2 separate regions of the Homo sapiens genome follow, and region 1 is linked to region 2. The links are contacts of gene promoters, found by promoter capture Hi-C in blood cells and fetal thymus (Javierre and others, 2016). All regions are on one chromosome and are shown on one strand. The core of a region is centred on a gene start or on the middle of the fragment in contact, and the rest is flanking DNA. Distances in the headings are between cores, read along the strand shown. Region 1 overlaps NCOA7 (nuclear receptor coactivator 7). Region 2 holds the start of NCOA7-AS1 (NCOA7 antisense RNA 1).

Evidence for each region. The method cuts DNA at HindIII sites, captures the fragments that hold promoters and counts their contacts. A CHiCAGO score of 5 or more calls a contact.
Region 1: a contact is called between a fragment that was not itself captured here and the fragment with the promoter of NCOA7-AS1 in region 2, in 7 of 17 cell types (non-activated CD4 T cells, activated CD4 T cells, naive CD8 T cells and 4 more). The highest score is 7.0, in non-activated CD4 T cells.

Annotation. Positions count from the first base shown.
Region 1 is chr6:125,896,705-125,900,426 of GRCh38, forward strand. The region is part of intron 10 of NCOA7 (nuclear receptor coactivator 7); the gene reads left to right. Among named protein-coding and RNA genes, the nearest start is that of HINT3, 58 kb to the right of the region's middle. The HindIII fragment of the contact is 1,674 bases long and covers 1,551-3,224 here.
Region 2 is chr6:125,816,375-125,820,327 of GRCh38, forward strand. NCOA7-AS1 (NCOA7 antisense RNA 1) reads right to left here and starts at 2,484. Exons shown (of 3, transcript NR_126386.1): 1 at 2,436-2,484. The region is part of intron 2 of NCOA7 (nuclear receptor coactivator 7); the gene reads left to right. RefSeq lists an enhancer at 1,709-2,210. The HindIII fragment of the contact is 4,548 bases long and covers 1-3,953 here.

The DNA of each region.
Region 1 (3,722 bases), core at 1,138-3,637, 80 kb after region 2:
TCACTTGAGCCCGAGATGCTGAGGCTGCAGTGAGCTAAAATCACGCCTCCGCACTCCAACCTTGACAAAAGAGCAAGACCCTGTCTCCAAAAATAAAAATAAAAAGATTATTTATACCTTAATATAAAAATGTATAATACATTTATTTGTTAAAAAGTATTCTAAAGTGCTGTTTCTCTAATTGGCTTCTATTTAGGATCAGCAAACTCATTTATACTCAATAGACAGTTATGTTTTGTGTTTGCACACGTATTTAGGATAAACTCATTATGTATAAGTTAAATTGATTCTGTTTTAGAAAGCATGATAAGTTATTACATAATGTCAAGCATAATTCAAAGTCTCACTATCTCATTATAATATTTGGGATTTTTGTGCTTTCACAATAAAAATGAGTAACGTATACATGCGCACACAGGTATCTGTCAGTTTAAAAGGTATAATCTATGTTGCGTGTATATACCTGATAGTCCAATTTGAGACTAACAGTAGTATTTCCTGTAGTATAGTTCATCACCCAGAGTTCTCCATGGTTGCCTGGACCAAAGAGTAGAACCAAGAGCTCAAGGCCCCTTTTTAAGAAATGGTACCTTTTCTTTAAGTCAACATTTCCCCCAGGATATTCAATGGAAAGCTAGTCCCATGAACAAGCAATGGGTTAGAAAATAGATGTTTCATAGTTAAATATGTTTCATACTTAGTTCTTAGCTCTGTGTAGAGCAGAGCCTTAAGCTCATAGTTTTTATTCCTTAAATAGGCTTCTTTAAGGATTTCTTAGTTTTATTTTCTATTCTCTATTATTTTTCCTGGAATTGGCATAATAGCACACAGTTAATTTTTACTTTATCTCTAATCACATTTTGATTTTATGAGATTACTTTCATATCAATATATATTTAAAGACATGTTAGTTCAATCTCTCTGTTGGCTTTAAATTCTTTACTATAGTAAATGCAAATTGGGATGTATTTCCCTTTTCACATTTTTTTTTTGAGATGGCATTTTGCTCTTGTCACCCAGGCTGGAGTGCAATGGCATGATCTCGGCTCACTGCAGCCTCCGTCTCCTGGCTTCAAGCAATTCTCCTGCCCCAGCCTCCCAAGTAGCTGGCATTACAGGCACCTGCCACCATGCCTGGTTAATTTTTGCATTTTAGTAGAGACAGGGTTTCACCATTTTAGCCAGGCTGGTCTCATACTTCTGATTTCAAGTGATCCGCCTGCCTCGGCCTCCCGAAGTGCTGGGATTACAGACATGAGCCACCATGCCCAGCCCCTTTTTGACATGTTGAGTAGTAGCATCCATACATACTAAGACCATGTAGTAACATTTTGGCCACAAAAGCTATATTTTATTGTTAGGAGTGACTAGTTGATGACCGATCATAGTCAGGATTTTTCAACTCTCTTTCTATCTTCTTTTTCTTTTTCTAAACTATTCACTCTTGGTTCTGGAACATTTAGAGCAAAGCCTGAAAGTCATGAGTACTGAGCTTTTCATGATGTGCCATCCATCTGAAATCTTACTCATTTTTAAAACTATGGGTGCTAAGCTTCATTGGACCCTGATGTCATTCAGGTGCCTGAATTGCAACATTATAAAAGCATCAGATTATTCTGGTTGAGCACATATTTTTACAAAGATCATCCCATGTTATCTTCATCATCCCAAGGAGAATTTCTACTCTTAAAAACTCAAAGAGGAATATCAAAGAAATTAACCCACTACCTCAGCTATCAGTTTGCCCAGAGCTAAATCAGAGAGCATTAAGAGAGCAGATTGGGCAACAAATTGATGCCCTTCTTGACTTTGTGCTACTCTGATTGTGAATGTAGTACTTGAAAATAACAATTTCCTATTCTTTAGTTCCTCTTCTTAAAACCTATTTTGTACCATATGTCTATGATAATCTTCTAAAAAAAAACTATTCTGATCTTGTTTCATTCCCACAAAAATATCTTAAGCCTTCAGGACTCATGTCTAAACCCCTTCTGTATTTTTAAAAACCCTTCATAAAAGTGCTAGGATTACAGGTATGAGCCATTGTGCCCAGCCTATAATACATATTCCTAAACATTAGTTGGATGGGTTCATGAATAAATGAGCTTATAATCTAATAAATAAAAAATGTATTTGTTATTTCTTATAATTAAAATTATACAGACTAATATTTAGAAAATACAGAAAAGCAAAAAGAAGAAAATTGAAATCTCATAGTTTTGTTACAGAGAACTAACTACAATTCATTTTATCTGTATAGCCTTTTAGCCTTTCTTTCAATGCATGGATTAATGTAATAATACTATATAGATCATACATATATAGTATATGTAAATTGCTTTTCCTTAAAAATGTGTATTTTTCTGCCATTAAATATTCTATTCACATGCATTTAGTGAGCATGAATTATTTTATAATGAGAATCATAAAAAATAAAATTGATTCCCTATTAAACTTGTTTTACAATGGAAAGATGTTCAAATCCTAAGGACCTTCATGAAGACAGCAAAATGCTCTTAACAGCACCTTTTCTTAGAAATAAGGGATGAATTAAAGGAATTACAAACTGACCTAGTTTTCTAGCATGAAATCTTTAACCATAGTTAATGTGGAATTTTCTGATCAAAAGTCACCTTGCTTCTACTGGGATCACAGCTAACCTGGAATCTTTAATGCCTCCTGGTGCCAAGAAGACCATAATCTTGAACATTTTTTAGTACTGTACTTGCTGGAACAACTGAGGTCCTACTCAGCCATACCAGGTATATATCAGAATACAAACCCTGTGATTCGTAAGTACCACTTACCAATGTGTTATACTGTAATTTTATGATGATTCTTTAAGTTGAAAGTCACTAGTAAAGAAAAAACCCAAACAAGATCTCCAAAACATCCCTGAAAGAATTGTCTTCTTGTCTTCCTATTTAGTATGAATTTTGGAAAACCCCTAAACAAATATGTAATTATTGATTATTTTATGTTTTAAAGTGACACTGCTTGCTCTCCCTTCCTGATTATTTTACCTTTTTTTCATCAACTGAAAATTCCAGAAATTCATTACCCTCCAAAAACACCCTCTTAGGCAACCACCCCCCAGTAACTTCAGTAACCAGCTTTGGCAAATACCTTGAGTTAATCATTCACTCTACAGTCAGACGTAAGCTCATGAAAAAATAATCTTCTTTGTAAGTGAGCTCTTCACAGTGCTTTCTGGTGGCGGAGCAAGCTTGGAGACAAGTAGCTTTGGAGAATAGCTGAGGGTCCATTTCCACTGCAGACTAATCCCTGCCAATGGGTGCTGCACACAGTGTTTGGGAGTAAGTATGCAGAAACAGTAATGATTGCAAACCTAAATGCCTGCAGGGGCTGTGGAATGGGGGTAAAGGAAGCATGAGGCCAGGGTTAATTATAGAGCTCCTTCTCTACCAGTAGGGGCTGTGGACCTCTGTAGCTAGGTGGGAATGGGAACACAGGCCTGGGGTGTTGCTACATCTTCTCATCTTTTTCAAAAAGGAAGCCGAAATATCGATTAAATATATTAAATCTCCCCAGTTGTTAAGTATTGTCCACTGTTTAATTTTAAAGATAGTGAGCAGAGCAAAGAAAACATATTTACTTCTGAATCCACGCTATGGGCTGCCAGCCTGAGGCCTCTGGCATTGATATTAATATAAACTTTTACGTTTTTATTCATTTTCAAGTAATCCTTTTTATAACCACAA
Region 2 (3,953 bases), core at 1,234-3,733:
CCAGTGATGCAACTAAGACTCAGAAAATATTTTGTCCATTTCATGCAGCATAAGAGTCAGTATTAAACATAAGGCCATCTCCAAAAGGCATGCTCCAGTTAGGAATAGTAAATCATGAATAAGGTTTTGGGGAAGCACAAGTTAAACTACCAATTGTAGTAAAATATTTTCTGCTATTATGACTACAGAGAGTAACCAGATTAGGGAAGGAAGACATCAGGCATCTAATGGATGAGGCACCAGAAAGATAGGATATTTAGAATAAATAAGATCTCCAAAGTTTTTATTTTGAGATAATTTTAGATTCACATGTAGTTAGTTGTAAGGAGTAATAGATACCCTGTATTCTTTATCCATAGTACAGTATCACAACTAGGAAATTCATATTGATACAATCCACCAGCCTTATTCAGAGCATTCATTGTATGTGTGTTTGTGTGTATTTAGTTCCATGCAGTTATATCACATGTAGATTTCTGTGGTCACCATCAGTCAAGATACAGAACAGTTGCATTAAAAGGATCCCACATGCTACCTTTTTGTATCCCTACTCACTCCTTCCATCTGCCTGCCTCCTCTGACAACCACTATAATTTGTCATTTCAAGAATACTAGGTGAATGGAATCATATAGTATGTAACCTTTGGCATTTAGCTTTTTCTTCCCTTCAGCATTACTCCCTTGACATCCCTCAAAGCTGTTGCATGTATCGATAGTTTGTTCCTTTTTATTGCACAGTAGCATTCCATAGTATGGATGAATCACAGCTTTTTAGTCATTTACCCATTGAAGGGCATTTAGGTTGTTTCCAGTTTGGGCTATTTATGAACAAAGATGCTAGATGCTACAATCATTTATGTACAAGTTTTTGTATGAGCATGAGTTTTCATTTCCCTGAGATAATTGTCTGAGAGTGCAATTGCTGGGTCAAAAGATAAGTGTATTTTTAGTTTTATAAAAAAGTGCAATACTCTTTTCTGGAATGGTTGTAACATTTGACATTCCCATCAGCAAAGTCTGAGTAATCCAGTTTGTCTGCATTGTCATTTGGTGGTGTCAATATTTTTTATTTTTATCTTAGCTATTCTGATAAGTATGTAGTGATATCTCATTATGGTTTTAATTTGTATTTCCTTAATGGTTAGTGAAGTTTAACATTTTCATGTGCTTATTATTAGCCATAGTGTATCTTCTTTAGTGGCATCTCCTTTCCTATCTTTTGCCCATTTTCTAATTGAATTGTTTAGGTTTTTACTGTTGAATTGTACACATTCTAGTCTTTTGTTGGATATGTGATTTGCAAATATTTTCTCCCGGACTGTAGTTTGTCTTTTCATCCAGTTAACAGAGTTGCAGAGCAAAAGGTTTTAATTTTGATGTGGTTCAATTTATCAGTTTCTCCTTTTATGAATTGTGCTTTTGGTCTGAATTCTAAGATCTCTTTGCCTAGCTGTATGTTCTGAAGATTCTCTCCTGTTTTTCTTTTCTGAAAATTTTATAGCATTATGTTTTATATTTAAGTCTGTGATCCATTTTGAATTTATTTGTGGATAAGATATGAGTTTAGGTCAAAATGGTGGTCATGCTTCTCCTCCCCTTCCTCCCCGTCTCCCTTCCTCACCTCCTCCCTTTCTTCCTGCTCCTCTTCCTGCTCCTCTTCCTCCTCTTCTTCCTCCTCCCCCTTCCCGCTTCTCCCCCTTCCTTCTTTCTCCCACCTCCTCCTTCCTCCTCCTCCTTACTTTCTTCTTCTTTCTTTTCTTTCTTCTTCACTTGCCCTACATAGTGATTTTAAGAGCTATAGTGCCTTCTCAGCCTGAATCCAAAGTGATTCCTGTAGTAAAGGTAACTGCCGGTTCATGAACAACCTGCTCAATGTTAACCTCTTCTTGTTCCTAAAATGTAGAGTCAGGGGAGCCCCTGAAACTGAGAATACAAACCAAAACTGTTCTGGAAGAGCAGCACAGTTTTTTCAACTCAGAAATGTAAAATTGTCTTGCTTATCATGACCTCTTCTGAAAAGTATTCTAAAAATGAAACAAAAAACGTATCCTAAAATGCTGAAATGTGATCTTGGGAGCATAGGGACAGTGGCACAAGGATGAAATCAGTGATGCTCTTAAGACAGTAAGACAACATGATTTGTAACTAGGAAATGAGAGAGATGGAGAGAGGAGAATGGAGAGAAGAGGGGGTAGGAGCAGGGAGAGAGAGAAAGAGACAGAGAGAGAAACACTGACTGACAAACCTGTAGTTTAGCTCTTACAATGCAGTGGAAGCCAGAAATGGTCAAGCTATTAAAAGCAAAAGGCAAACCAAAGAGAAAAGAACCCCCTTCAGCCTATAATCAGAAAAGAGCCATCCAAAGTTATACATCTTTTCAAATGCCTTCTGACTTAACTGTGGAATTACCATGTGGAACTAGCAACAGAACTTACTTGAAAGCTGGTTTCTGACAATGTAGAGCAGAGTTCTCTGGAGCAGCGTACTTAAGGGCAGTCCAAGCAAGATCTCTGGAGAGAAGGATAAAATGTCAGGCCAAGGGTGAGGCCAAACTGATGCAATCTCAGTTTTCTCTAAACTAAATTATACCACCTTACATAAATCTCAACTGGTGTTCTGAGGAAGTCAAAAGGAAGATTTACCCTGATGCTGTGCCTGCTGCCACAATTACATATCTGAAACCCTAAAAACTGCTTTTTAGCCTGCTTCCCCCTTCCACCTAGGAAAAACTAGGAACACCTAGTTTTTCCTCCTGAGTAGTTAAATAGCCAATGTTTTCTTTGTGTGCTATCTTATCATGTGGTTTCATAATCGTTGTGTGACTGTGTTTGATAAATAGTCCTTTGCCAAACCTGTTTTGTTGACGTTTCGCTCTTTAACATCAAAATAGAGTTTAAAATACCCTATTTTAATAATTTTGGATTGAAATTAGTGATTTGAGGGTCACCCAGTCTTTCCTTTCTTATAATTTATCTTGAAATATGCCTGTGTAACTCTAAATAGAGGGGTGGATTAATACTGCTACTAGATAGAGTAATTCTGGATAAGACCTGATGAATTTTTTGGATTTTCTGACCCTGGTCCAACTGGTTTTCAGGTGCTTCAGGATAGTTTTATAACAGTTGTTAAATCTAGATTGAATGATTTGTGAAACTTTTTCACAAATGGTTTTGCAAATAATTTATATATGCAAAATTAGTATATGTCTATATTAATTTCTTGATCCCTGACAGGTCTTGAAAACCAAATGAAAAACTGAATTACTAAAGCAAATTATACTTTCTGTACTATTTGTACTGTGTACAATTTATGCTATCCTCTGGGGTGACTATCATGTGTCATTTGTTACACCCCTGCTGACTCTTCCTTCCCCTTGTAGTTAGAATGCAAAATTTTCTTTAGTATTGCCATACAGGGCTGTCTTCTTACACACTTGCTTGACATTATTTGGCTTTTGTGATTTCCGAGTAGGTCCTTGTATGCCATTGGTTGAAGATTCTTTGAAAGCATTTTTTCAGGATCAAGCGTTGATTGAAGATATCCAAAATACATCTGTAGTTGAACCAAATGGTGTTTTGTGGGAGGTTTACTTTTCCCCTCTGATAAGGTGTGAGAGCCTGGGAGTAAACAGTGAGTAATATAGACGAAGACACAGACTGGGTGTTCATGTAGGTCCCTTGTTGGCTCCCACCTCCCCTATTCCCTGGTTGTCATGAAAAGCAGAACTGCTGCTCCCACCTCCGCTTTCCTCTTAACCCAGCCTTTCAGAGCAGCAGTAGGAGCCAGCACCACCTCTGTCATCATTCTCAGTGACAAAGGATGCAAAGTGTAGAACATTTCTTAGCTCCCATCTCCAGCCTCTGCCCTGGCAATTCTTCACCCTTGAACCTCTGACCCACAAGCAGAACACCTAGTGTTTGCAGTTCACTCCAGTGTATAACCTCTGGCAAGTC